5 separate regions of the Homo sapiens genome follow, and regions 2, 3, 4 and 5 are each linked to region 1. The links are contacts of gene promoters, found by promoter capture Hi-C in human tissues and cell types (Jung and others, 2019). All regions are on one chromosome and are shown on one strand. The core of a region is centred on a gene start or on the middle of the fragment in contact, and the rest is flanking DNA. Distances in the headings are between cores, read along the strand shown. Region 1 holds the start of RCAN1 (regulator of calcineurin 1). Region 2 holds the start of CBR3 (carbonyl reductase 3). Region 3 overlaps SETD4 (SET domain containing 4). Region 4 overlaps LOC101928269 (a long non-coding RNA gene). Region 5 has its middle 74 kb from the start of LINC01436.

Region 1 (5,737 bases), core at 990-3,489:
CCACAGTGTTAGGACCTGACCACTCTGACCAAGCCCCCTCCCCTTGCTCTCTATCCCTGTTTCAGTCTCTTCATCGCATTTATCACTATCCGAAATGATCTTGTTCACTTGCCTTTTTCCTATTGTCTATCTCCCCCTCAACCACTGGATCCTAAGCTCCATGAAAGCAAGGAGCTTGAAATGTTCCCTGCTTTATCCTCTGGGCCTAAACCAGTGGCTGGAACACAGTAAGCACTCAATAGACAGCAAAGCCTGAATGAACCAATGCTACATTGTCTCTGCTCAAAATATCACCATATCAGTAAGACCTTCCCTGATCATCTTATGGAAAATAGCAATCTCCCCTCCACTCCCAGATCTCCACTCCCTCCTCCTGCCCTCCAAGTCTTATTTTTTCCTATAGCATCATTACTTTCTGATACATTTGATATTTCTTTATTGCTTGTTTCCCTTCCAAAAAATGTCAACCCTGGAGGCAGAAATGCTATTTTATTTACTGATGCAGCCTCAGAGCCTAGGACAGTACCTATCCCGTAGCGAAGTCTCAATAAATATTTGTTAAAATGAATAGCTAGCGAAGTGGGCAAACTTTCATACAACACAATTTCAGGATTGTATCCAACACTGGAAAAAATTGTCTCCAACACTACAAGTAAGTGCCGTCTTACGTGACTTGACCTTGTTCTAGCAGAAAGACAGCCTAGAACTCCTAAGGAAAAGGTCTGAAATGCTGGCTAGCGCTTAGTTTATATGGAGAGGAAAAGGTTTTAGAGTAAGATCAATCAGTAAGACCCTGAGTTCCTGACAATTGCTGCTCTAGAAAGCATGCCTGGAAGCTTACCTAAGCACACGGCCATTGTAATTCCTTTCAGAAAGTAAGTGAACATATAAATTATAAATAAATGACACTTACATACACCATTCTGTTTCACAGTGGTGTTGTATTGGCAGCAGCCTTCAACTATAGTTCATTGACAGCATTTGTGGACCCACAGCCAAGCGCTGAAAGCACTGCTTTTTTTGACAGCTGCTCTCCTAATGGGGCATCTCTCAAAGACCGGTTTCATTCTGTGACGCCCACGTTGTCCACATTTTATTCTGCACAATAACTGCAGATTTGAAATAAATTCTTCCTCCCCACCACCATTATTGATTACTCATACCTGCCCCTCACCCTCCAAAGTGTCTAAATTGTGTGGATTTTGCGGGGGTGGGGGGAGGCGGGGGAAGGAGTCGACTCCCCATGTACTGGGTGTCCCCGATGGCGGCAAGCCACACCTTCACACAAGGGGGCAAGGTTCTTGACTAAATATCCTAAAGGTCTGAAAGATGGTCCCCTTCCCCCCAACACAATTCCACCAAAACTGGCCAGCCGCTGGCTAATGAGCAACCACGGATCCTCACCCAAACATTGGCTTTTCTTCCAATAGTGCAGATTGGGAATGCAGGGACGTCGTCCTATTTATGAACACTGAGTCACGTCGCCGCTCAATGTCTGTTTCCTCCTCCCTAGGAATGAGGTGACCCCCTCCTCCAGCGAGTAAATGCGGGGCGATGGCGAGAGCGCAGGGGGCGGCGGCGCTGCCCCACCTTGGGGAGCGAATTCACCCCCCTAGTCGCACCAGCCTGGGCGCACACGGGGGCCGGGGCGAGCCTGTGGGACTCTGCAGTGAGCTCCGCGCGCCCCGGGGGTGCTAGGGGACCGGGACCCTCGGGGCGCCGTCCCCACGCCCCAGCCCTGACGGGTCCGCGGCCGAGCAGCCCGGGGGACGTCGCTGCCTCCCCGCCCCGCGCGCGGCCGGGACTGGGCGCTGCGACCCGCGCCGCCTCCTCGGGCAACAAGTGTCCGCCCTCCGCCCCGACGGCCCGCCCGGCGCGGTCCTCACCCGGCACAGGCCGTCCACGAACACGCGCGGGTCCAGGTGACAGGCGATGGTGGCGCTGGGCAGGTCCTGCAGGTCCACCTCCTCCATCTCGCAGTCAATGAAGCTCCAGTCGCCGCCGCCCTCGTCCGCCTCGGCCGCCCCCGAGAGGGGCGCGAAGGGCCGCAGCGTCACCCCGGGCCGCGCTCGCGCCTCGGCCGCCTCCGCCGCCTCCGCCGCGGCCCCGAGCTGGGGACCGGCCACGCCGTCCTCCATCCCCGCGCCCGCGCGACCCTGTGCGCCCCAGCGGGCTGCTCCGGGCTTGCGCGCCGGAGCCTCACGCGCTCCGGTCCGCGCCCGGCCGGCGGCTCCGCCGTTAACCCCCTCGGAATCGCGCGGCGGCAGGCGGCGGGCTGTCAGCAGTCTCCCAGCGACACGGCCTCCCAGCGCCAGCCCCGCCCGTCACCGTTCCGCGCGGGAGGGGCAGAAGCCCGGCGCGGCGACCGCCCCCCCAGCCCCTAGGGCCGGCCACCGGCAGATCCAACGGTGGCCCCTTTAAGGCCGGCGCCGGTTGGGTTATTGTACCCCGCCCTTCCAGGAGACGGGGCCAATAAAGGAACGGAATTCTCTTCACGTGACCTTCCTTCTGCCGCCCGAAGCCCGAAGCCTCAGGGCGGCCATGTTGGTTAGGGGCAAAGTCCTCGTCCCCAGTTCCGCTTTTCTGACAGCTGGTGCCAGCTGAAGGACGCCGGGCAGAGTCCTCGGCTCTTGGGCCCTTGGGGTGATAACTGGGGAGGCAACGTTTTTGTGGTTCCCATGCGGGGACGTTTTGAAGCACAGGGGCCCACTTTTGGGAATTTAAGCGAGACATAGTCTCCCTGTGGCTCTGTGGCCCCTGGCAAGTGGTTAGATGCTTACCGTATATTATCAGATATAGTCGCAATAAAGACTGAACTAGACCATGATAACAATGCCTTACTTTTCTATTTCAGCGTATTAGTCACTATACCATTGTGAAAATTTATGTAATTAGAAGTAATTTTTCTGAATTACCATTATATGCTATGTACAATAGGACATAACGAAAGAATTAAGAGATCACCCCTTTCCTTTGGGGAATAGCGGAAAAATAAGAGGACCTCAAGTGAGCAGACATGTCTCTTCCTGAAAAATAGAATTCTTTTTTGGACAGTATGATACAGTGAGAACTTGGGTCTGAATTTCAGCTTTGCTTTTTAACTACTTGTACAAATAAGCTGAATCTTAGTTTCCTCATCTGAAAAAAATGAAGACATATTACTAAGAATTCAGTCAGTGCTTAATAAATGGTAGCTGTTTATGCACTGGGTTCTTTGGAGGTTGTGAAATTACAGTTATATTTTTTCTTAGAGTAGGCTTACTCTCTAGTTAGGAAGTGTTAGTAATTATAACAAAAAGTATATCCAACAGCTGAGATTTATTCAGAACTTGCCATGTGCACGGTTCTATGATTACTATTATCATAGTCTTAGGACAGTTTGTGTCCTCAGGGAGCTAAACCCAAGAGGAATAATAATACCCATCTAGAGATAACTCATAAAATAGAATATGATATGAGGATGTGAAGAAATTGGAACCGTCATACTGTGAAAGGGAAATCTTGGGCCCCCAAAATCACTAAGGAAAACTAAAGCTGGAAGTTGCTTAGAGCCAACCAGCCTCCCATTCCATTCAAAGTCACCCCTCTGCTCACTGAGACAGATGCATTTCACCGAGACAGATTTGCCTCCTTTATAAAGACTAATCAGAAACCCAAAGAGTGTAACCGTTTGTCTATCACCTATCTGTGACCTGGAAGCTCCCTCCTGCCTCCTGCCTTTGCAGTAGTCTTCCTGCCTTTGCTTCAAGTTGTCCTGCCTCTCCAGACCAAACCAATGTACTGCTTACATACATTCATTGATGTCTCATGTCTCCCTAACATGTATAAAACCAAGCTGTGCCTTGATCACCTTGGGTACATGTCCTCAGGACTTCCTGAGGCCTGTCATGGGCATGCCCTCAACCTTGGCAAAATAAACTTTCTAAATTAATTGAGACCTGTCTCAAATTTTCAGGGTTCACAATATATTGCTGATGGGCATGTAAAATGGCGCAGCCACTTTGGAAAACAATTTGGCAAGTCCTCAAAAAGTTCTATGTAGAGTGACCATATGACCCAGCAATTCCTCTCCTAGGTATATACTTAAAAGAAATGAAAACGGCCGGGAGCCATGGCTCACGCCTGTAATCCCAACAATTTGGAAGGCCAAGGCGGGCAGATCACCTGAGGTTGGGAGTTCCAGACCAGCCTGACCAACATGGAGAAACCCCGTCTCTACTAAAAATACAAAATTAGCTGGGCGTGGTGGCACATGCTTGTAATCCCCGCTACTCGGGAGGCTGAGGCAAGAGAATCTTTTGAACCCCGGAGGCAGAGGTTGCAGTGAGCTGAGATCACGCCACTGCACTCCAGCTTGGACAACAAAAGCAAAAACTCAGTCTAAAAAAAAAAAAAAGAAAGAAAGAAGTGAAAACATATGCCCACACAATAATCTGTACACAAAAGCTCATAGCATCATTATTCAAAATAGCCAAAGAGTGGAAACAGCCCAAATGTTCACCAGTTGAAGAATGGACAAACCAGGAGTATATCCATACAATGGAATATTTTCCAGCCCTAAAAAGGAATGAAATGCTGATAACATGCCACAACATGGAGGAATCTTGAAAACATTATGCTAAGTGGAAGAAGGCAGTCACAAAAGGCCACATGTTATTCCATTTATATGAAATGTTCAGAATAGGCAAATCCACAGAGAGAGAAGGTAGTTTAGTGGGTGCCAGTGTTTCTGAAAGGGGAAAATGGGGAATGACTTGTATAAGGGTAGAAGGGTTCTTTTGGGAGTGAGGAAAATGTTCCAAAATCAATTGTGGTGATGTTTGCACAACTTTTTGAATATACTAAAAATCACTGAATTGTACCTTAAAGGGTGAATTTCATGACATGCAAATTATATTTCAGTAAGGCTAGTATTTTAAAAGACCACAAGACATTGGATGAAGTGCAGCAGAATGGATGACACTGCAGAGCCGAAAAGTCTCGGTAAACTCGGCCAGGCATTGTGAAAAGGGTAACAAAAGGATGAGGCACTGGTTTTGGAAAAACAACACCCGGTCAACCTGTCGCTGGGTGGGTCCATGTTTTCATCCTTAGGACAGTATGCTCTTTCATTGCTGGCTTGCCATAAGCCACTTACAGCATGCAGAGTGGGCCTGTTGGACAAAGTGTTCAACAGGAAGGAAAGCACCAACAAAACAGAAAGCCAAAATGCAAGCAGAGCAAACCCTTGCAGCTGGCTCTCTGATGTGTTAAGACAGGAGCGAGCAGGAACAACCTCAGGCGAGTGGTGAGGACAGTTACTTGTAACTGACTTCAGAATGCAGCTGGTCATTACTCAGATACAGACCACACCAAACATTTCCCTCCACATCTGTGGATCCCCACCTCTCTCCTCTCCTTCCCCATCTGCACTTCCCCAGGAAGCTAAGTGAAGAGGGTGACTTTTCTTAGTTCTCCGACCAGATCAATTACTTGTCTGTATAACTCCGACAATAATAATACTGGTCTCTTCTGTGTAGCTCTTAAATCGTTAATGGGTGTACACATAAACTAGCCCACATCATCTTAACAAACTGGTGTTATTACTGCAGATTCTTAGAACTGAGGCTCAAAGAGATAAATGAACTTCGCACAAGAAAATAAGCAGAGAGCCCGGTGCGGTGGCTCATGCCTGTAATCCCAGCACTTTGGGAGGCCGAGGCAGGTGGATCACCTGAGGTCAGGAGTTTGAGACCAG
Region 2 (5,737 bases), core at 3,238-5,737, 1.5 Mb after region 1:
TACAGTCTACAAAAAGACCTGCTAGAGCCATTATTGCCCCCCATGCAGGATATACGTACTGTGGGTCTTGTGCTGCCCATGCTTATAAACAAGTGGATCCGTCTATTACCCGGAGAATTTTCATCCTTGGGCCTTCTCATCATGTGCCCCTCTCTCGATGTGCACTTTCCAGTGTGGATATATATAGGACACCCCTGTATGACCTTCGTATTGACCAAAAGATTTACGGAGAACTATGGAAGACAGGAATGTTTGAACGCATGTCTCTGCAGACAGATGAAGATGAACGCAGTATTGAAATGCATTTGCCTTATACAGCTAAAGCCATGGAAAGCCATAAGGATGAGTTTACCATTATTCCTTTACTGGTTGGAGCTCTGAGTCAAAAGAACAGGAATTCGGAACTTTTCAGTAAATATCTAGCGGATCCTAGTAATCTCTTTGTGGTTTCTTCTGATTTCTGCCATTGGGGTCAAAGGTTCCGTCACAGTTACTATGATGAATCCCAGGGGGAGATTTGTAGATCCATTGAACATCTAGATAAAATGGGTATGAGTATTATAGAACAATTAGACCCTGTATCTTTTAGCAATTACTTGAAGAAATACCATAATACTATATGTGGAAGACATCCCATTGGGGTGTTATTAAATGCTATCACAGAGCTCCAGAAGAATGGAATGAATATGAGTTTTTCGTTTTTGAATTATGCCCAGTCGAGCCAGTGTAGAAACTGGCAAGACAGTTCAGTGAGTTATGCAGCTGGAGCACTCACGGTCCACTGAAGCTCTGAATCCTCAGGGATGCCACCTGCACATTCTCATACTCTGTCCGGGCTCCCAGCCTAGCCTTTACCACGATACTGGTCCTGGTTTGGGGGGATTCTGAAACCTCAAACTAATAGAACTTTCTTCTCTTTTTTTCTAGTAGGTGTAGTCCTTCCTTAATTTCAACTCATTAAAAAATGCTTTATAGTTTAGGGCAGTGGAAGGAAGGCTGGCATCAAAATATTTTGATCAAAAAAGATGACAATGTAAAGGCTCAGTTATGGCAGACAGTTTTTTGAAAGTAACTTGTAAAGCATTTACCATATCCTAAATTTGCACTCTTTGCAGACTTGTGCACATATATTCCGCTTTCAGAATAGTTTTGCAAATTGTACACAAACAAACAAAAAGGTGGAAGCTTTTTAATAAAGAAATTGCATTTATAAATGATCTGTATTAGAATATAATAAATCTCCAGTTATAGTCAATTACTACCCATGTTGTACAACAGATACCTTCTATTTTAGTTGCTAATAAAGGGCTACACAACTCAAAATAAATAAATAAATAAATAATTTAAAAAATAAATAAAAATAAACTGAATGAAATTGAAAACATATCAATGTGAGATGCCACTAAAGTCATACTAAAAGGGAATTTACACCACTTACTGCCTACATTAGAAAAGAAGTCTCAAATCAATGCAAATCAATGACTTCTGCCTTTACAGTAAGAAACCAGAAAAAGAGCAAATAAAATCCAGTAAGCAGAAGAAAGGAAACAAAGATCAGAACAGAAATTAATATAATCAGGAAAAGAGAGAGAGAGAGAATCATTGTAACCAGAAGTTTGAGGAAAATCAAATCAATTGGTAAACCTCTAGCCAGACAGATCAGAAAAAAACACGAAAGACACAAACCAGTCTCAGAAATGACAGGTAGCATCATTACCAACATTAAAAGGATAAGGGCATGTTAAAAGGATAAGGGTATCAATAGAATCAACACCTTAGATGAAATATATAAAAAATTTGAGCTCTTTCTCAGTGACCAGGGCCTGTGCTTAGGCATAGACGGGCAAGTGGAGCCAACATGCCAGCGGCCCAGAGCTGGGTTTGTTGCCAAACTTATGTGACCCTGCAGAGACCCTTCGAGAAACCTCATCTCGACCAAAAGCTAAAGCTGATTGGTGAGTATGGGCTCCAGAACAAATGTGAGGTCTGGAGGGTCAAATTTACCCTGGTCAAGATCCATAAGGCCGCCCGGGAGCTGCTGACGCTTGATGAGAAGGACCCACGGCGTCTGTTCGAAGGCATTGCCCTGCTGCAGTGGCTGGTCCGCACTGGGGTGCTGGATGAGGGCAAGATGAAGCTGGATTACATCCTGGGCCTGAAGATCAATGATTTCTTAGAGATTCCTACAGACCCAGGTCTTCAAGCTTGGCTTGGCTAAGTCCATCCGCCACGCTCATGTGCTGATTCAACAGTGTCATATCCGTGTCCGTGAGCAGGTGGTAAATATCCTGTTCTTCACTGTCCGCCTGGATTCCCAGAAGCACATTGACTTCTCCCTCTGCTTCCCTATTGGGGTGGCCAACCCCAGCCACGTGAAGAGGAAGAATGCCAGCAAGGGCCAGGGTGGGGCTGGAGCCAGAGATGACGAGGAGGAGGAATAAGCCTGCTTGTCCCCTCCTGGGCTGGTGGATTGTCTAGTTTTCCTGCCAAATGATAAAACAGGATCAATGCTTTATTTAAAAAAATAAAATTATGAAAAACAGAAATTAAGGTCACTCAAGAAGAACTAGGCCAGGCACGGTGACACAAGCCTGTAATACCAGCACTTTGAGAGGCCAAGGAGGGAGAATCGATGTAGCCCAGGAGTTCAACCAGTCTGAGCAACACAGTGAGACTCCCATCTCTAAAAACAAATAAAAATAAAATAAAATAAAAAATTATCCAGGCAGGCCGGGTGTGGTGGCTCACGCCTGTAATCCCAGCACTTTGGGAGGCCAAGGCGGGTGGATCACGAGGTCAGGAGTTCGAGACCAGCCTGGCCAACATGGTGAAACCCTGTATCTACTAAAAATACAAAAATTAGCTGGGTGTAGTGGCAGCGCCTGTAATCCCAGCTACTCAGGAGCCTGAGGCAGGAGAATCGTTGGAACCCAGGATTCGGAGGTTGCAGTGAGCCAAGATCGTGCCACTGCACTCCAGCCTGGGTGACAGAGCAAAACTCCGTCTCAAAAAAAAAAAAAAAAAAAAAATTATCCAGGCATGACTGTGGCACACTTGTAGTCCCAGCTACTAGGGAGGCTAAAGGGGAGGATCACCTGAGCTCAGGAGACTGACGCTACAGTGAGCCACGACTGCAGCACTGCACTCCAGCCTGGGCGACAGAGAAGACCCTATTAAAAAAAAAAAAAAAAAAAAAAAAAACAGAAATAGAAAGCCTAAATAGCCCCATATCCTTAAAACAAGGTTCCAAATGATCTTTTTTTTTTTTTTTGAAAAGTCTCACTCTGTTGCACAGGTTGGAGTGCAGTGGTGCAATCTCGGTTTACTGCAACCTCCGCCTCCCGGGTTCAAGCAGTTCTCCTGCCTCAGCCTCCTAAGTAGCTGGGATTACAGGCACGTGCCACCACACCCAGGTAATTTTTGTATTTTTAGTAGAGATGGGGGTTTCACCATGTTGGTCAGGCTGGTCTTGAACTCCTGACCGCGTAATCCACCCGCCTCAGCCTCCCAAAGTGCTGGGATTACAGGTGTGAGCCACCGCGCCCGGACCAAATGATCTTTAGGAGAAAAAAGAAGGAAATACTGGGGGAGGCACAGTAGGAGATCACAGCAGGGGCCCACCTCCGGAACCTCAAGTAAGGACTTGAGAGAGAAGGTAGAGTCAGAGTAACAGAGACACAGGCGGGTTAGCCAGCTCTGCATGGAAAAGGCTGAGTCGTGATGATGTCATGGTTCTCCCCAAATCTCAAAGTCACTGATCAAACAACTCAGTTTACACTGAAGACGATGGATGAGACTCTAATTTTGTGCCCACAGCTTGACACACCTTTGGGAATTTGGTTTAACTTTCTTTGCCGGTACACAGATCTGTGAGAACATATGATCAATCCAGATCTTTATAGATCTATATCCTCCCTGGACAAACCTAAATGCAGACACTTTTAGCACCCGTAGGAGTTAGGTAGGATTAAATAAAAACATTCCCTCCCACTTGGGGGCACATTCACTGGGAATCCCAGAGCGATGTCGCCTGCCCACACCTGCTAAGTGCGCTCACAGGGCATCTAGTTCCCTCTCTTGAGTTCCTTTTAAGCAAGCAAGGCAACCTATGTCCAGAGAAGCAGTTACTGTGTCTAAGTAAGTCACTGCATCTTAGGAAAAAGCAAACATTCGCATTTTGCAGTGCATGATGGGCGCACACCCAAGAAAATTACTCAGCACTTGTTTTTCTCACTTTGGGGTTTTCCCAAAATAATTTCTTCAGTCCAGTTGCCAAGAATCTGGAGCCCCCGACTGACCCATCAAGGTCCGATTTGGCTTCGGACACCTCGCAGATCACCCCGCGGCTCAGAGCCCGGATCCTGAAGGGCGCAGCGTGGGCAGGGGGCGGGCCCGGGAGTTGGAACAGAGGGCACAGACGGCCCCTCCTCGGAGGGGAGGGACCGGAGCCGGGGCCTTTTTCTTTAAGACTCGCAGCACTGGATCCCAGAACTTAGTCTGCGCGGCGGCATTGACACTAGCTGGGCTCCTCGGGGCGCGCCCCAGGTGGTCCGAAGCCCGGTCCGCCCTCCACGCAGGTGCCCCGCGCTCCCCGCTCAGCCATGTCGTCCTGCAGCCGCGTGGCGCTGGTGACCGGGGCCAACAGGGGCATCGGCTTGGCCATCGCGCGCGAACTGTGCCGACAGTTCTCTGGGGATGTGGTGCTCACCGCGCGGGACGTGGCGCGGGGCCAGGCGGCCGTGCAGCAGCTGCAGGCGGAGGGCCTGAGCCCGCGCTTCCACCAACTGGACATCGACGACTTGCAGAGCATCCGCGCCCTGCGCGACTTCCTGCGCAAGGAGTACGGGGGGCTCAACGTACTGGTCAACAACGCGGCCGTCGCCTTCAAGAGTAGGTGCAGGGCTTGGGTTGGGGCCCCCTGGAGCGCTCCGAGGGTGCGGAGGTGGCCAGCCGCAGGCTCCCCACCCGTCCACTTGAGTGACCGAGGAGGGTGGCGCCGACCCCTAGGGATGCGCTCAGCCCACGCCTCCCGCGAGGCGGTTTTCGCTTTCCGTGATTCGCTGAGCCCCAGGCGGGCCCGGGCGACAAACAGCGCGCCCCGCCCGCCGGCCTGTGAGGGCCTGTGCGCGGCCCGGGGCCCTCCCCGAACTGTCAGCCGCTGTTGTGTGCAGGAAAACTGGCCTCCTGGGAGGGGGCAACGCCCTGCTAGAGTTCATCAGCTTTCCTTCCAACGCGAGAAACATTTTCTCTGCAAAGAAACGGTCTCCGCTCGCTTTGGGCTTTCGCTTTCCTTGAAAGGGCGCATTCATAGATGCCCGGAGGCATTTGCTCGGGAAAGGAAATGAATCGCTAAAACAGGATTAGCGCGCGCTTGCCCTTGGTGGACTTGACAATTTGTGTAATGCAGAGCTTTGATAGGCTCTGGCAAAAAGGAAGCGAGCCTTCTCGTTCCCCCACCCCCGCCCGGGGAGCTTATGTTTGTTATAAAATACGTGCGTGTGGTCTTAAAAGCATCTTCCTTAAGGAGAGGGGCGGGGATCAAGAGATTGCTTATTCTAACTACTACTGAAGAAAATTACAGGAGGGCGCAGTGGCTCACGCCTGTAATGCCAGCACTTTGGGAGGCCGAGGCAGGAGAAACGCTTGAACCTGGGAGGCAGTGAGCCGAGATCGCGCCACTGCACTCCAGACTGGGAGACAGAGCGAGACTCCGTATGAAAAAAAAAAAAAAGTTACT
Region 3 (5,737 bases), core at 1,502-4,001, 1.4 Mb after region 1:
CCCAAGTGAATAATTAGACAAGCGCCACCTTGAGAGGCCAGGAGCATGCTTAGAGGACATTCCCTCCTCCTGGAAGCTGTGTGTCCCCTAGGGGGCTCTTCAACACCCACCTCAGTGCAGCCACACAGGGAAGGGCTGGCGTCTGGGCCACCCTGGCGGGGATCCAGGACTACCTCACACTGCCCCACACCCACCGCCAATCTGCCCCTTAACCCAATGGTATCAGAGCATCTTAAAAGCACAACCACTAGACTCTGATAGCTGCTGTGTCAGATAAGAAGCAGGCCCCGTGGTGACAGACCACACACGGACGCAGCTGGCTCCTGGCTGCCTCACAGTCCGCCTCTCTCCTCACAGTTCAGCACTTTATTCGGAAGAGCATTAGACCTGCCATCCAGACAGCTTGTCCACCTTCACTCACAGCCTCACAATCCCAGAACCTGTGCTGCCCCCTGCAGAAATCCTGCATGTCCTGGGGGCAGCCACCACCCCAGCCCATGATGATGCTCTTCAAAATTAACTTTTGTTTCTGTAGGAAAAGCAAAAGGAAAAGGATTAAGTTCCTAATTGTTGAGTAGACACAACTCATCGACTCTAAACTATATAAATTTAGTCCATCAAACCTTAGTCTAAAATGTGTGACTAACACCCACCAGAGGAGGTGACCAAATGCGCTTCGGTGAAATCAGGTAAAAGCTGTTTGCAAACTGTGCAGGGTCTCGGCAGATGCCCTGAGAATCTTTAGCTCTTCCGTCCACAAGGATTCCACCAAAGTTAGTTGGTTTATCAGGGCCTCTTTTTCATCCTTCATATGAGACACCTGAAAGTTATTTTTTAATTATTGTTATTGTAGTAAAACATATATATATATTTCACAGAACGTACGTACCTTTTTAACCAATTTTAAGTGTATGGTTCAGCAGCATGAAGTACATTCACATTGTTTAGATCCACTGCCACTCTCCAGCTCCAGAACTTTTTCTATCACCCAAACAGAAACTCTACAAGCATACATCAATAACCCTATTCCCCTCTTCCCCAAACCCCCCGTCACCTCTACTCCACTCTCTGTCTCTACGAACTCACCTGTTCCAGGAACCTCACAGAAGTGGATCATACAGCATTTGTCCTTTTGTGTCTGGCTTATTTCATTTCCAATAATGTCTTCAAGCTTCATTAAAATCACTCTTTAAATCCCAGGCATGTTTTCATACGAATAAGCTGATTTCTCATTTAACTAAAACATTTACTAAATAAACACATCAATGAGAAAGAATGCTTGAAGTCACACAGTAACTTTTACTTTTTGCCTTTTAATAAAAAGTAAAGGCAAAGATATGGAATCAACCTAAGTATTCATCAACAGATGAATAAAGAAAAAGTGGCATATATACCCAGTGAAGTACATTCAGCCTTATAAAAAAGGAAATTTTGTCATTTGTGACAACGTGGATGAACCTGGAGGACATGCTGTCACACGGCAATAAGCCAGCACAGAATGACCAATATTGCATGATCTCACTATACATGGACTCTAAAATCATCAAACTCATAGAAGCAGGGAGTCAAATTGTGGTCACCAGAGGCTGAGGGGTTGGAGAGGGATTAGGGAGATGTTGATCAAAAGACACCAAATTTCAGCTGGACCAGAGGATTAAGTTCAAGAGATCTATGGTACATCGTGGTGACTACAGTTAATAACAATATATTATGTACTTGAAAATTGCTAAGTGCAGATTTTAAGTGTTCTCACCACAAAAAAAATAAGTATATGTGATCATGCATATGTTAAATAGCTTGATTTAGCCATCCACGATGTATACCTATTTTAAAACATCATGTAGTCCACTATAAATATATACAATTTTTACTGACCAATTAAAAATAAAGAGGCCAGGTGCAGTGGCTCATGCCTGTAATCCCAGCACTTTGGGAGGCTGAGGTGGGCGGATCACCTGAGGTCAGGAGTTTGAGACTAGCCTGCCCAACATGGTGAAACCCTGTCTCTACTAAAAATACAAAAATTAGCCAGATGTGGTGGCGGGCACTTGTAATCCCAGCTACTCGGGAGGCTGAGGCAGGAGAATCACTTGAACCCAGGAGGCGGAGGTTGCAGTAAGCCGAGATCGTGCCATTGCACTCCAGCCTGGGAGACAGAGCAAGACTCTGTCTCAAAAAAAAAAAAAAAATAGAAAAGAAAAAGAAAAAATAAAAATAAAAAATTGAGAGAAAAAGCATAGGTACTATGTTAACAGTCAAAAATGGAGCCCAGATGCGGTGGTTCAGGCCAGGCGCAGTGGACACTTGTAATCCCAGCACTTTGGGAGGCTGAGGCGGGTGGATCACTTGAGGTCAGGAGTTCAAGACCACCCTGGCCAACATGGTGAAACCCCGTCTTTACTAAAAATACAAACATTAGCTGGGCATGGTGGCGGGTGCCTGTAATCCCAGCTACCCGGGAGGCTGAGGCAGGAGGATCGCTTGAACCTGGGAGGTGGAGGTTGCAGTGAGCCAAGATCGTGCCATTGCACTCCAGCCTGGGCAACAAGAGTGAAACTCCATCTCAAAGAAAACAAAAATAGAGATTACATCAACATTTATTTATTTAAGGCACTAAACAATGCTCTTATGAAATGCACTATCCCTAATAACATGTACAAAACAAGGAACTGCTGAATCAAGACACTTCTTTAAGGATGTCATATTCTAGAAACATACCTTTTGAAGCACAGCATTAGTCTCTTCTATGAAATAATAGCATATTTTCTGGGCTATGTCCAAACTTGTCTTCTCATTCGTATCTGAAATTACCTCCCCAAGAAGTACTTTTTTCCAGCATGTACTAGAACCAAAATGTTCCATGACACAATTTTAGCAGGCTCTCAAAAAACAGATTTTTTTGTTTCAGTGCAACACATAAACTCCTTCTCCTATTTCTCCAGGAGCATAATACAACTCATTCCATAAGCAGATTCCCCAAACCTCCATGCCACTTGCAGCTCCCATGTGGAAGCCGACCAGGTAATGAGAGAGGAGGAGGAGGAGCTGAGAATAAAAGCACGGGGGGTGGGTACTCTCTGCAGGCAAGGGCTGAATGTTATTATCATCACAAACCTGTGTCTGACCCATGAGTGAATGAAGTCCCGTTCCCGGCCATGGGAACGAAGCCAGTGACAGAACAGGAGGGCGAGTCCACAGCCGAAAGGCAGAGGACTAAGGAGCAAAGGCAGAAGTTTTCCTTCAAGTGACCGTCTGTCCAAAATAGTAGCAAACTGGGCACAATTCACAAAGCCAAATGCTCCATGTCTGGAAGGAGGAATCTACAGCAAGCCTCTATCCCCATGCAGGTCATTCCAGTGCTCTACTACAAAGGTTCGCAGGAAACGGGGCTCAGTCAGCAGGCAGGGCCCACTCTGGAAGGTCTGCTGTGGCAGGTGCAAGGGAGCCACAGCAGGATGCGGAGCAGAGGTGGCAGCGCCAGACCTAGACACTAGAAAGAAGAACTACCGGGAGAAAGACGACGGAGGACCGGATTCTGAACACCGAGAATCTGGAAGTGGAAGTGGCTTCGAAGGGGAGGAAAGATGGCTGCTGTGGAAGTAAACAGGAGCCCATTAGATTCAGAACAGCTGGCAAGACACAGCCCGGAATAGTCTCAGAAGGCTTCAGTTTCAGAGATGACAGGTGAAATGAGTTCTCAGTAAAGAAAAAGGAAATGACTGTGTGTCAGGCATGGTGTTCATGAATAACCATTACCTAATTTAATCTTCACAGTTACCTAGCAAAGAAAGCACGATAATCCGCATGCTAGACTCAAAGAAACACTCAGCAAAGTTGAAGCACTCACCCTGAGTGACAGAGCTAGTGAGGCAGAAAGAACTGAAACGCCCCAGCCAGAGCCCCACACGTGCTTTCTCCACACCCACTCAGTAAGCGGTAACTCAAATGCAAGAAAAGAGGCCTAAGGAAGACCTCTGGGAAACAGCCAGTTGTTGTATTTAATTTTAGGCTGAAGTGTCCGAAAAGGACTCATACCTTGTTGCCAGAAGGATTTAAAGAAGCTAACATAAGTACACACAAAATAAAAGGTAAGATGAATGAAGGCAGAAAACAAGACAAAGGAAGACAAAAGGAGAAAAGACAAGACACTGCAGGAATGGGCCAGTGCGAAACCGCATGTCCCAACACTAGGTACGTTTGCATGCACCTCAGATTTGCCTCTCAGTTTTCCAGTGAACAAGGAAAAGAAGGAAACATCGGTTAAAGAATTCATAGTATCTGTAAGATAAAAACACTCCATTTGCTAAGAATAAAAACAAAAACTATGTCTAGTGTTGAGACCAGAGAGAAATTTTACTCCAAAAGTTCCTAGAGAAAAAGAAGGAAGCAACATCATCTCATCCAAAAGAAGAACAGGCGTCACTGAAGGGGCACCGACTGCTCCCAGGCACTGTGCCTCATCTCAGTCAGTCCTCCCAACTGTTCAAGGACAGCCTGCACCATCTTCAAGAGGTTCTCCCTGGATATCTAGCAGCAGAAGGTTGAAGGCTGCTCTCCCTGCCAGGGACTCAGGCTGAAGCTGCCCCTACACTGGGTACAGCACAGCTGGATGTGTCGACAGGGGGCTGCAGGGAGCAGGACTGACAGCAGGCAGGAACATGAGGGAGCCTGGCCAGGATGCACACCCACACCGGGGGCTCCCCGACCTGCCTCCCCCATGGAAAAGTCCAGCTCTTCAGCCAGGTTTCTGGATCTCCCCCAGGGCAGGACCGACGTTAGGGACTCTAGCTCTACTTGTCCTGGGCAAAACCTACCTACTCAGAGACTTTCCTCTGAACAGTGCCAATGCCCACACTTTTTAAAGGATTTCAGGTCACCAGAAGGAAAATATGAGTAGAAACAAAAAGATTATCAAAACTATGTATGCTGAGTCTAAAACCAGAATTCCAAAACGGTTAAAACTTAGAAATGAAACATTCGCTACATGGGCAAGTTACATAATGAGAAAGCAACTCCAATGTATGACATCCCTTTTTCCTCCCTGGCTGGGTATCTGAATGCAAGCCAAAAACAAACAAACCAACCCTCCAAAGTTATATCTAGCCTGTTGCTACAGCTTAAGACCAACACATGTGAAACTTACAATTTCTCAGCTTCCAGACATAACAACTTAAGGGCTGTGAGTAGCCTCCAAGATGGTCCATCCCATCCAAATGTCAAATTTCTGAAGTAGAAAAACAAATAATGACAAATCCATCATTTCAGTATTTCATGACCTCATAGCAAATGACTGAAGAGCCAAACACCTTTTTAAAGAGGTTGCTAAATGTCATGTAACCTGCAACCTCGGCCAAAGGACAAGAGAAAATCAGTCTGCAAATACTTAAGAAGAAAGCCTAAGTAACAGGAAATTCTCTCCCCATTTTTTTTCTAAAGAGTAAACAGCTGGCCGGGCGCAGTGCCTCACGCCTGTAATCCCAGCACTTTAGGAGGCCAAGGCAGGTGGATCACGAGGTCAGGAGATCGAGACCATCCTGGCTAACACGGTGAAACCCCATCTCTACTAAAAATACAAAAAATTAGCTGGGCGTGGTCGCAGGCACTTGTAGTTCCAGCTACTTGGGTGGCTGAGGCAGGAGAATGGCGTGAACCCGGGAGGCAGAGCTTGCAGTGAGCTGAGATTGCGCCACTGCACTCCAGCCTGGGCGACAGAGCAAGACTCCTTCTCAAAAAAAAA
Region 4 (5,737 bases), core at 1,445-3,944, 1.3 Mb after region 1:
AAATGTGTTTTCTTTGCATTTCAGTCATGCCCTGACCTTGGAGAGGACGATGTAAAGGGGAATGCCTAATTAACTTTCCATTTATAAACCAATTATTTTACTATTGGCACCTTCATTCTGCAATCACTGACATAAAATCTTTTACAAAACAAAATGTAATAAATGAGAAATCGATTGGATTTTTTTTAAGTTTGCTTTGAAGTCAGCCATTAATAAGAAATGTCCTTTAATAAGAGAGATCTGTCTATAGAAGTTCCTCGACGTCAGAGCCCAGCTGTGCGGCTGCTGGAGGAGACGAAGCCGCATTCAATCAAGGCTTTGGAACTCTTCCTTGTTCATCTTTAACTGCAAGGACAGAGGCGTACTATTTTTCTTTTTTTTTTTTTTTTTTTTTGGTAGAGAGGGGGGTCTCCGTAGGTTGCTCAGGCTGGTCTCAATCTCCTGGACTCAAGCAATTCTCCTGTCTTGGCCTCCCAAAGTGCTGAGATTACAGGTGTGAGCCACCACACCCAGCCAGTACCAGAAGGACTGCTTTTCTCCTTAAAAAAGAGGGAAAGAATGTTTTCACATAGATCTTCATGTGCTAAAATCACACCAAAAACTCATGCAAGGTCAATGAAGAACAAAGTTCTCTGCTCCCACCACAGAATCTTTGCATTGACTGTCACTGTCCCGGACACTCTTTCCCAGAGGTCAGCATGGTTCTCTCCTTTATCTTCTTCAGTTCATCATCAAGTGTCACCTTTTGGTGAGACCTTCCCTCACCACCCTACTGACAACTATAAACCAGCAGCCCCGACATCTGCATCCCTTCTCCACCCTGCTTTCCTCCATAGCACTCCCATGCTTGACATTCTTTACATTGGGTCTACTCCTCCCTTTTGATTATTCCACGCCTCCCCACCATGAGAATGTAAGCTCCATGAGGACAGGAAGATCCCAGCAACACCTAGAACAGAAGCCAACATAGAGCCAGCACTCAATAAATATAATGAGACGTATACATCAAGTATTTACAATGGAAAGTCAAAATACCGCTGCCCATCATGAGCAAGTCATTCCCCTTCTCTCCACAAAGATAGACAGTGTGGTGAAGCCACTGCCCAGGTGAGTCGAGAACAAAGAAGAGAGAGAAAAACTGCTCCTGTTCTCCAACATCAGATACAAAGCACCGTGCCTTCCATGTCACCTGGGAGCCCAGACTCAGGCAGCTACCATGATCCCTGCCCACACCTCCACCTGAAACTCCAGAGGGAAGAGGGGTAATGTTCCCTCTGGCTTCTAGCTTGCTCGTGGCTTGCTGGTGAGTTGTATCCAGGGCCAGCTCCATGGGAACTGCTGTAGTCACACCCAGGGTCCCATACTCAGAAGAGTCCCAAGCTTGGTTTCATGCTCTGCTGTGGCCGTCTGGAAATTCTTTCCAATTTTACCTTTGAACTTGGGACAGTGGAGCATGCATATGAGCAGAAGAGATTCATAAAACCAAAAGAAAAACTTTATATTTTAGTACCTTTAGCAGCATTTTTTTCTCTGCTTTTTCAACAAGCAGATCCACATTTTCTTTTTGTACTGAGCCCTAAAAATTACGTAGTTGGTCCTGGATGCATTCATGTTCTTTGTGGAGGGAAAACTTTCTAAGGTGGAGAAAATCCACTCTGTCTAATGGTTCTGTTCTCCCAACTTGATAGAGGTGTGGCCATCTCTTTCTGGCTAACAACAGCAACAACAAAGCTTAGATTCTAATAAATCCCAAATCAAGGAGAATAATTGAGCTGATTAGTTGCTTTGAAGGAAAGAAATAATACAGAAAATTCTTTTATAAAAATAATTACTGGAAATTTTAATAAGCTAATTTAATAAATTTTCCCAGCTAATAAGAGTAGCTGGGAAACTACTTTTGTTGTTGGGAAGCTATTTTTGTTGTTTGGAAACTTCAGAAAGTTATTTACTGAAGTCATATGACAATTTCTACTACATGTGCACCATGTACCAAAAGGGAATTGTTTAATCCACCTCTTCCCAAGGGCAGAGTCAGGATTCGTGGACATAAAACCCAAGGCTTTACAAATACTGAAGAGAACTTGGCTATTCAACAATTATGTGTATTAACAAAAGGCAAAATGCATCATTAATTCTATAACTTTCTAATTTTGAGAAAACTCCATAGACTCACAGGTTAAATTAAAATAGAAAAAATTTAAATGAATTGCTAAAATGTAAAAGTTAGATGGATCATTCGTATGTTGAATGATAATGATATCCAAATTTGATAAATTTCAAAAGATCAAAAAGTTTAACTTCATATAACTTGTGATGGTTAATACTGAGTGTCAACTTGATTGGATTGAAGGATACAAAGTATTGATCCTGGGTGTGTCTGTGAGGGTGTTGCCGAAAGAGATTAACATTTGAGTCAGTAGGGTGGGGAAGGCAGATTCACCCTTAACCTGGAGGACACAATCTAATCAGCTGCCAACAAACAAAAAGCAGGCAGAAAAACGTGAAAAGGAAAGACTGGCCTAGCCTCCCAGCCTACGTCTTTCTCCCGTGCTGGATGCTCCCTGCCCTCAGACATCAGACTCCAAGTTCTTCAGTTTTAGGACTCAGACCATATATATATATATATATATATATATATATATATATATATATATATATATACACACACACACACACACACACATATACATATATATACACATATACATATATTTATATATATACACACATATACATATATATACGTATCTTCTATTAGTTCTGCCCCTCTAGAGAACCCTAATACACCAACAGAGTCATATTTTCCCAATTTGTCAATCCTTCCCTATTTCTCTGTCTCTACTATTCTATAAAAGATAATACAAGACCTAGGAAATAAAATCAAACACCTACAGAAGTCAGACATGTAACATAAACATGTGAACCAGGCTGAATACAAGACAGAAGGGGTAAGACAGTGGGACTGCATGTGTACCTTCTAAATTTTTTTTTTTTTTTTTTTTGAGGCAGAATCTTCCTTTGTCACCCAAGCTGGAGCACAGTGACGCAATCTCAGTTCACTGCAACCTCCACCTCCTAGGTTCAAGCAATTCTCCTGCCTCAGGCTCCCAAGTAGCTGGGATTACAGGCATGCACCACCACACCCAGCTAATTTTTGTATTTTTAGTAGAGACGTGGTTTCACCATTTTGGCCAGGCTGGTCTCAAACTCCTGACCTCAAGTGATCCACTCGCCTCAGCTTCCCAAAGTGCTGGAATTACAGGTGTCAGCCACCATGCCTGCCCACTTTTTTTAATCAAGGAATCTTCTGAATTTTTAATCAAGTCAGGATCTTCTGAAAAGCATAAACCAGGGCAGGATTCAATGTACAAGTAATTTATTAAGAGAAGCGCCTATGAGTCTCTTATTCAGGCTGCTATAACAAAATATCATAGACTAGGTGGCTTATTAACAGCTGAACATGATTTCTCACAGTGCCAGAGGCTGAAAGTTGGACATCAGGATGCCAGCAGCAGTGTTAGGTTCTGGGGAGGGCTCTCTTCTGGGTTGCAGGCAGCTGACTTCTTGTTACATCTTCATATGGCAAGACAGGACAAAAGAACTCTCTGAGTGTCTTTAAAGGGAACTAATACCATTCATGAGGCTCCACCCTCATGACCTAATCACCTCCCAAAGGCCATCACATTGAGATTAGAGTTTCAACATATGAATCTGGGGGGCAAAGACATTCAGTCCATAACAGAGACAACATGAGGAGCAGGCTACTAGAGATGTTAGACCATCGTGTAGGTCTGACCTGCATGAAGGAGAGAGGGAAGGAAGCAAGGTGAATTAGATGCTTCCTCAACTACAGTGCATTTCTCCAGGAAGTTCTACAAGGCCAGTTGGGAGGCATCAAGCCACAGTCAGAGGCATCACCTCTCCCAGAAACAGGCCTGTCTGGGTATCCCACCTTGCTCAGTCATGAAAAGCAAGGTCTCGGGCCGATCAGTGATGGATTTCAAAGCACAGCAGCTGGGGCTGTTGGTCAACGATGCCAACTGCAGTCATAGATCTGAGGCCATTCTCATATCCTCCATAGTGCCCAATAGAATACACCTGAAGGCTAGCAATCTGAGCCTGCCTAGGCCCTTGTTAAACTCTCATGCTTCATTCTCTCACCAACTGTCATCTCTCCATGCCTATACCTCACTACCGACCAAATGAAAGTGTAGCTATCCATTCCATTCAGAAACATGGAAAGAATTCATTCCTTGAAAAACAGACCTTGCAGGACCTGTGCTAGGAGCAGACACAACTTCTAAACAAGCTGTCCTTACAGATCTGTTGGAAATCAGTCACTGGAGCTGCCTTCAGGCCAGAAAGTTTGCATCAGGTGTTCAGGTTGTTCTGTTTCCCCACAGAGGTCACAATGCCCTTGACTGAATGTGGCTCCATGGTTGGATAACTTATGCAGGAATAAACCACGATTAAAAAAATAATAACAAATGTTTATGCCAGCTTTTGAATCATAAAGCAATTTCCCATCCTTTCCTTTTCATACAGAAAAGTGTTCCCCTTAGGAAACTTCCAATGATGCCACTGATTCTTCCATGGATGCAAAAAATTGTGTTAGTGTTGTATTTTCAAGGTTGAGAAGGAAAAAACAAAAACAGCACTAGCAAACCGAGAACCTGTGAAAATATCGGTGGTAGTGTTGCCACACAGAGAGACTGAAAATATAATGGCTGCATTCCCCAAGGTAGTCTCAAGTTACCAAAATCATTCTGTGGAAGGCCGAGAGAAAATAAAGGAAAAGATCCCTGTAAATACGGAAGCAGTGAAGAGAGTAGCAATAGAAGGGCAGCCCTTTAAAAACAAAGGAATTATAAAACATGAAGGAAGACTAACAGCTAAGCCTTCAGAGGAACCAGAAGAAAACAGGCAACTGCCAGAAAGCCCAAGAACCCTCATACTCAACGTGTTCCCCAGAAAACACCCTGCCCTAATGTGTGGGTTTGTTGTTGTTGTTGTTTTCAGGAAATGGAAACCCCATTTCTTCCATTGTACTCATCAGAAACCTATCCATGTTTGACAACTTCTCTCCTTCACTCCTATACAACCACATCACCCAGTCTTCTTGGTTTCATTTTCTCTTGAATCCATCCACTTCTCTTAACCCTAATGTCCACCCTGGTCCAAGTAAAGGTCACATTTTGCCTACTCTTTAACGATGGACCATCCAGCTGGTCTCCTTGAGTCAACTCTTGCTCCACACGCCCATCATTCTCTAAAGAGTCCTCAGTGGTCTTCTTAAAACATAAATGTAATCCCAGCACTTTGGGAGGCCGAGGTGGGTGGATCACCTGAGATCAGGAGTTCAAGACCAGCCTGCCCAATATGGTGAAACCCCGTCTCTACTAAAAATATAAAAAATTAGCCATGCGTGGTGGCATGTGCCTGTAATCCCAGCTACTCGGGAGGCTGAGGCAGGAGAATCGCTTGAACCCAGGAGGTGGAGGTTACGGTGAGCCAAGATCATGCCACCGCACTCCACCCTGAGCAACAGTGAGACGCCTCTCAAATAAATAAATAAATTAATTAATTAATGGGATCATATTGTTCCACTGTAGTCTAAACCTCTCTAGTGGGTTCCAATCCAGTTTTCATCACAAAATCCCTCATGCTTGACAAGATCCTGCATGTTTGTAACCCCTCCCTCTCTAACATATCCGCCCCATCTCCTCAGTCCCTACGC
Region 5 (5,737 bases), core at 2,199-4,698, 1.3 Mb after region 1:
GAATCCCTTGAATCCAGGAGGCAGAGGTTGCAGTGAACTGAGATTTGTGCCACTGCACTCCAGCCTGGCAACATAGCAAGACTCCATCTCAGGAAAAAAAAAAAAAAAAAAAGATTCATTCATTAATGTAATCAGATAATGTACACCTACTTTAAATGTATATAGAATATATCCTTGGAAACACTTGTGTGCTGCTTGAAGTCTCTTATTCTCAGCTCCACTCTCTCTCCTTTCTCCTCCCCTGTGACCCAGGAGCAGAAAGCCTGGAAACTACATTTTCCAAATCCCTCTTGCCAATCAGCCTCTTGTTAGCTTCTACAATGGGAGGCACTAGTAGCAAACTGGAGGTGGAAGCAAGGGAGATGCTATTTTTTCCATCTTCTGGTAGTGCCTCTAGAGATGGTGGTGGCAGCAGCAAAGGCTGGCAAGGGTGGCTTCTGGGATTCTGCTGGGTCAGCTCAGTGTTAATAGCAACAATCTTGGTGGATCAGCAAGCATCATGTTCTCTTTGGCTTTCAAGCCTAGGGGGATAGTGACTTCCTGCAGTTACCAATCTGTAAGTAAGCTTGACTCCCTGTATTTACTCCTTCGTTCCTCTCAAATCATGCACCACCAATTTGTATGAAATTCCTTCTCTGAAATATTTACAGCGGTTTCTAGACAGAATAATGCACTGATTGGACACTGACTGATAACTTATCATGCAAATAATTTATCCCCACACACTGTATTTGCTATGAAGCAAATGTTAATCAGATGGTTAAAGATGATACGGTAACAATAAGGTCATTTCATTCAGTCTCCAAATTCATGGCAGATGGGCATGGTGGCACATGCCCATAGTCCCAGCATTTTGGTAGGCTGAGGCAGATGGATCACGAGGTCAGGAGATCAAGACCAGCCTGGCCAACATGGTGAAACCCCGTCTCTACTACAAATACAAAAAAAAGAAATTAGCTAGGTGTGGTGGTGCACACCTGTAATCCCAGCTACTCGGGAGGCTGAGGCAGGAGAATCGCTTGAACCCGGGAGGTGGAGATCACAGTGAGCCAAGACCACACTACTGAGTGAGACTCTGTCTCAAAAAATAAAAAATAAATTAAAAAGATGATATGGTAATGCTAAGGTCATTTCATTCAGTCTCTAAATTCATGGCAGATGGGCATGGTGGTGTACGCCTGTAGTCCCAGCTACCCAGGAGGCTGAGGTGGGAGGATCCCTTAAGCCTGAGAGGTAGAGGTTGCAGTGAGCCATGATTGCACCACTGCACTCAAGCCTGGGCAACAGAATGAGGCTGTGTCTTAAAAAATACATAAATAAACAAATTAATGCCAGAATTAGGAAGGAAAATTTAATTACATAAATTCTCTAAGACTCTATAAAACAGCCAGATGAGTGGTCCAATCCCCTTTCCAAATAGCTTTGGTTTCAATTTTATGTTTGTTGGCTTGGGGTCCGTCCATCTGGGTCATGTATTGGGCCAGTGTGGGATCTCAGGCATTGTTACTGGGTTCGCACGGCTGTTCCCTAACCTAACATGGCAGCATTAGATGCCAGCACTTTGATCCATGCACACACACAGGATATAGACATAAGAGCTTCCCAAACCAACTGGAAAGAGTCCCAGTGGGAATACTCCACGACATATTCATCAAAGTCAAATGCAGAGCAAATTGACCTGGCTCATTAATTATGAAAATTCTCTCACAAAGTGACATGTTGCTAACTATGTGGAAGCTTAGCACATTTTCACGTGGTTCTTTTTGTCTACTTGGATCCAAAATGTCACATTTAGTAATGCGTTGAGGTTTTCTTTTCCTTACTTAGGAAGAAAAAGCTATTTTATGCCGAACCCACATCTAAATATATATACTCGTGTGTTTACATATGCCCACTATGTGGATAGAGGTAGCCTGTTGGTAAGAAGGAAGTTTGCTATGCCAGAATTTGTTTTACAAAGATATATAGAAGGAATTTGAAAAATAAATGTTGATTATTTTAAAACCCTTGAATCTATGTTGAGCGCCTGTCCCCCCTGGACTAACTGGGCAAATTCAGACATCATATGAAAACCTGGCCTTATTTCTCTACATATGTTGGCTAAAGCAGTGAAAAGAACATGGGCCTCTCTCCACCATCACTGAAAGGAATTTCAGTTCCTTAGGTCTTTCATTTCCTCTCTCAAAATGTAGGAATGAGAACTTTCAGAAGCTCACAAAAGTTACCCTTCTATATTCAGGCCTTTTATCTAAACTGAGATGGTCATTATGTACTGCTTGACTTTTAAAAGCTCCTAAATGTGGCCAGGCACAGTGGCTCAAGCCTGTAATCCCAACACTTTGGGAGGCTGAGGTGGGTGGATCACCTGAGGTCGGGAGTTCGAGACCAGCCTGACCAACAATGGAGAAACCCTGTCTCTACTAAAAATACAAAATTAGCCAGGCGTGGTGGGCCATGCCTGTAATCCCAGCTACTCGGGAAGGCTGAGGCAGGAGAATCGCTTGAACTCGGGAGGCAGAGGTTGCAGTGAGCCAAGATCACGCCATTGCACTCCAGCCTGGGCAACAAGAGTGAAACTCCATCTCAAAAAAAAAAAGCTCCTAAATGTGCCTACTGAATCTTATGACAATGCCTGATCATTGAAAATCCTTTCTGGATCAGTTAGGTTATTAGTTTGGCTATCATTAAAAAAGGTCAAAGTAACAGTAACTTAAATTGATAATAGTTTATTTATTTTAAATATGGTCTAATCATAAATATTCAAAGTGTTATAACACTCCATAGTATCAGAGTTCCCGCTCTTCCTGTCCTGCTGTTCTGCCATCCAAAACACATAGCACGTGCATACCTGTGCATACCTAAGCCTGTGCATAGAGGCCCCACAGCAACTCTGCACATAGCCCTCAAGGTCACATCCCACGGGCCATGTGGCAGTTCTTGCTGCAAGGGAAGCTGGGAAACATAACCTTTGTTCTGGGCTGCATTGGACTCAACTTTACTAAAGGAAAGGGATGGCTGAGACCAGCCATGTCTGCCACAGCCTTCTTTTCATTAAGGTGCAGCGTTTCCCTAAGTATTGGCACAGAGAAGGCACAAAATAGATATGTGTTCAATGAACAAATAAACAAATGAATAAATAAAATTCTTCAGGGAATGCTTATCTGAAAACAGACATGAAAACAGTTTGCTAGGATATTCACGGTTGGTTGTTTTCATCAATTTCTCAGAGGAGAAATTTAGTTTTTATTAGATCATTAAATCAATTTAAACAGACATATATTTGTATATCAGCATCAGGAAGAGCAATGTAAATGTCCTACGGGTGACATCATCATATTCTTCCCCAGCATTTCTCAAACCTATCTAGCCATGGAACCCTTTGTCAGAGAACATTTACTAATGATTTACAAGACATTCATGAAAAATACTCTCCTGCCTAAAATCTTAGCAGAAAAATAGAATTCAGCCATTTATCCACTTAGGATAGGACCATAAAGAAGTCAATATACATGTAAATAAACTACATTTTTTTAAAGCAACAAGAGAGAAGTCTTTTCAGCACATACTATTAACAGTCCCATAGTATCTTCCAATGGCTGTGAATAACTAGTAGGTTGACCTGCCACCTTACATAATGTCTTCATCTCCCCAGTAATTTCCCAATAATCCTGGAGTACTGGAAATGGAAGACACCTTAAAATGGTATCAAAGCCATTCGTCGGCCTTCAGATCCTAATGTCACTAAACTAACTGAGAGAAACCAACATCAGAGCAAAACCTCATGACATGAGCTCATTCCTACACAGGGTCTGGAAAACATCACTTCCACTTTAAGTACACACTAAAAAAGGATGATGATTCAGACAGACAATCTTAGCTGCACTGCGCGGGTGGACAAGGGGATTGTAACCAGCCATCCAGGAAATCTGGCATCTGTCCAGAAAACAAGTCTAAATTTTGAAAGGTCTCTGCCTAACACATTCAGTTTATGTCCACAGGTCTCTGAGGAAGTGCACTTATAAAGAGGAGATGACTACGTTAGAAATTATGACTGAGGCAGCTTTTGCGCTGTAACTCTTGCTTAAAAGGGAAGTACGCCAGTTCCCCTTTGAAACAGTTTCTAAGCAGCAGGTGGCTACCACCAGGAAGCCAGGCACACGATGCAGCAGTATTGATATCTGGCTGTGTTGTACAGATCTTCCCTTTATCCATTCGAAGGATGTGAAAGCGAGGGCAGAGGGTAGAATTTTTAGCTGGTAATGGTCTCTTTTAATCAAAGAACTCAATAAATTACAAAGAGACTGAGTCACTTGTCCTGTCTCAAAGAAATGTCATAAGAATAGCTCAGGGCAGTAAAGGAAGTTTAATTAACGCAGCCGGGTGTGGTAGTTCACACCTGTAATCCCAGCGCTTTGAGAGGCCAAGGCAGGCGGATCACCTAAGGTCAGGAGTTCGAGACCAGCCTGGCCAACATGGCAAAACCCCATCTCTACTTAAAAAAAAAAAAAATTAGCTGGACATGGTGGCACATGCCTGTAATCCCAGCTACTGGGGAGGCTGAAGCAGGAGAATCGCTTGAACCTGGGAGGTGGAGATTGCAGTGAGCCAAGATCATGCCACTGCACTCCAGCCTGGGTGACAGGGTGAGACTCCACCTCAAAAAAAAAAAAAAAAAAGAGCTCAGAATTGGAGAACATTTATAAGTAGCTTGGTTTAGGGGAGGACAAATGAGGAGAAAGCCGATCTAAAATAGGTTGGGACAATCTATTAGCCAACTATCTACACTCTCCCACCATAGTTTTCATTATTGCATTAATGAAAGCTGAGTCTCCAGAAATTAAAAAAGACTGTTTCTCAACCTATCTAAGCTGCAATCCGTTTTAATGAAGCTAAGTATAGAGACAGAGGGAACCTAGATAATAATAGAAATAACTGTGCTAATGTTTAAAAGAAGAAAAGAATGAGGTTAAGGTTAATTGCAGTAAATAATAATGAAAAATGTGTGTTATTCAATATAGTCACTAAAAGGATGAAAATATTTTCAAATATGACTCATTCCAGTTGAAACAGGAAGGGAAGTAAAAGCATCAACATCTGACAAGACATTAAACTCCCTAAGTCAGAGCAGCGCTGCCCCTGTGGGGAAGAAACTATCCTCCTCCCAATGGCACAGAACCAACTCACTCAAGCCAGGCGCCTCTGGAGAAAGTCACTGAATCACATATGTGTGTGCACACACACACACGACAATAGCCAGCCAGAGAGTGAGAAAGAAAGAGGGTATACTGACCCCTAAAGGACCAAGGCAGACTGTAGACATCTTTCAAGAAGGAAAGGAATGAAGAAAAAAAAAGGCAATAGATAATTTAGCTCAAAATCATGTTGGGAGAGGGTTGACCAGTTCTTGGACCCAGGGATCTTGAGAGAAAGAGTAGATGAGCCCAAATGTCCTCAGTAGGCACTTGAGGTAAGGAGCCAAGAGCTGACTTAGAAGGAGAAGGAAGGAGGACCCACAGGAATAATAAAGCAAGAAGGAGAGCACTTAAATACACCACATGTCTTCAAATTCGCAGGCCCTAGGGATTTGTAACTTGTTACAAAGTTATTTCTGAAGGCTAGAAAAATGTACAGAAAACATATGCTGCTTCAAAAGTGGGAGTGGAGAGAGTGGGAGAAAGGGATGACCTGCTTCTGTGAATAAATGTTCCTATTGTAATTCCTTAACTGGCAAAGTACT

The links. Contacts are between HindIII fragments. The study calls those that stand out against the background at their distance.
Region 2: the fragment with the promoter of CBR3 here is called in contact with the fragment with the promoter of RCAN1 in region 1 in 1 of the 25 tissues and cell types used here (spleen).
Region 3: a contact is called between a fragment that was not itself captured here and the fragment with the promoter of RCAN1 in region 1, in 1 of the 25 tissues and cell types used here (lymphoblastoid cells).
Region 4: a contact is called between a fragment that was not itself captured here and the fragment with the promoter of RCAN1 in region 1, in 1 of the 25 tissues and cell types used here (lymphoblastoid cells).
Region 5: a contact is called between a fragment that was not itself captured here and the fragment with the promoter of RCAN1 in region 1, in 2 of the 25 tissues and cell types used here (dorsolateral prefrontal cortex and spleen).

Annotation. Positions count from the first base shown.
Region 1 is chr21:34,612,874-34,618,610 of GRCh38, forward strand. RCAN1 (regulator of calcineurin 1) reads right to left here and starts at 2,240. Exons shown (of 4, transcript NM_004414.7): 1 at 1,887-2,240. The coding sequence starts at 2,138. RefSeq lists silencers at 1,755-1,854, 2,045-2,474. The HindIII fragment of the contact is 10,572 bases long and covers 1-5,737 here.
Region 2 is chr21:36,130,592-36,136,328 of GRCh38, forward strand. CBR3 (carbonyl reductase 3) reads left to right here and starts at 4,488. Exons shown (of 3, transcript NM_001236.4): 1 at 4,488-4,890. The coding sequence starts at 4,602. CBR3-AS1 (CBR3 antisense RNA 1) reads right to left here. Exons shown (of 3, transcript NR_038893.1): 3 at 1,176-2,483. It also overlaps the pseudogene MEMO1P1 and the pseudogene RPS9P1. RefSeq lists enhancers at 3,843-4,650, 4,651-5,457, 5,293-5,462 and silencers at 4,473-4,542, 4,973-5,142. The HindIII fragment of the contact is 7,591 bases long and covers 1,695-5,737 here.
Region 3 is chr21:36,035,432-36,041,168 of GRCh38, forward strand. SETD4 (SET domain containing 4) reads right to left here. Exons shown (of 12, transcript NM_017438.5): 9 at 5,144-5,224; 10 at 2,719-2,842; 11 at 654-820; 12 at 1-529. The coding sequence ends at 686. Among named protein-coding and RNA genes, the nearest start is that of SETD4, 22 kb to the right of the region's middle. The HindIII fragment of the contact is 4,974 bases long and covers 265-5,238 here.
Region 4 is chr21:35,954,287-35,960,023 of GRCh38, forward strand. It overlaps LOC101928269 (a long non-coding RNA gene), which reads right to left. Exons shown (of 6, transcript NR_110418.1): 6 at 374-539. Among named protein-coding and RNA genes, the nearest start is that of LINC01436, 48 kb to the right of the region's middle. The HindIII fragment of the contact is 8,113 bases long and covers 1-5,737 here.
Region 5 is chr21:35,928,481-35,934,217 of GRCh38, forward strand. No RefSeq gene overlaps it. Among named protein-coding and RNA genes, the nearest start is that of LINC01436, 74 kb to the right of the region's middle. The HindIII fragment of the contact is 9,246 bases long and covers 1-5,737 here.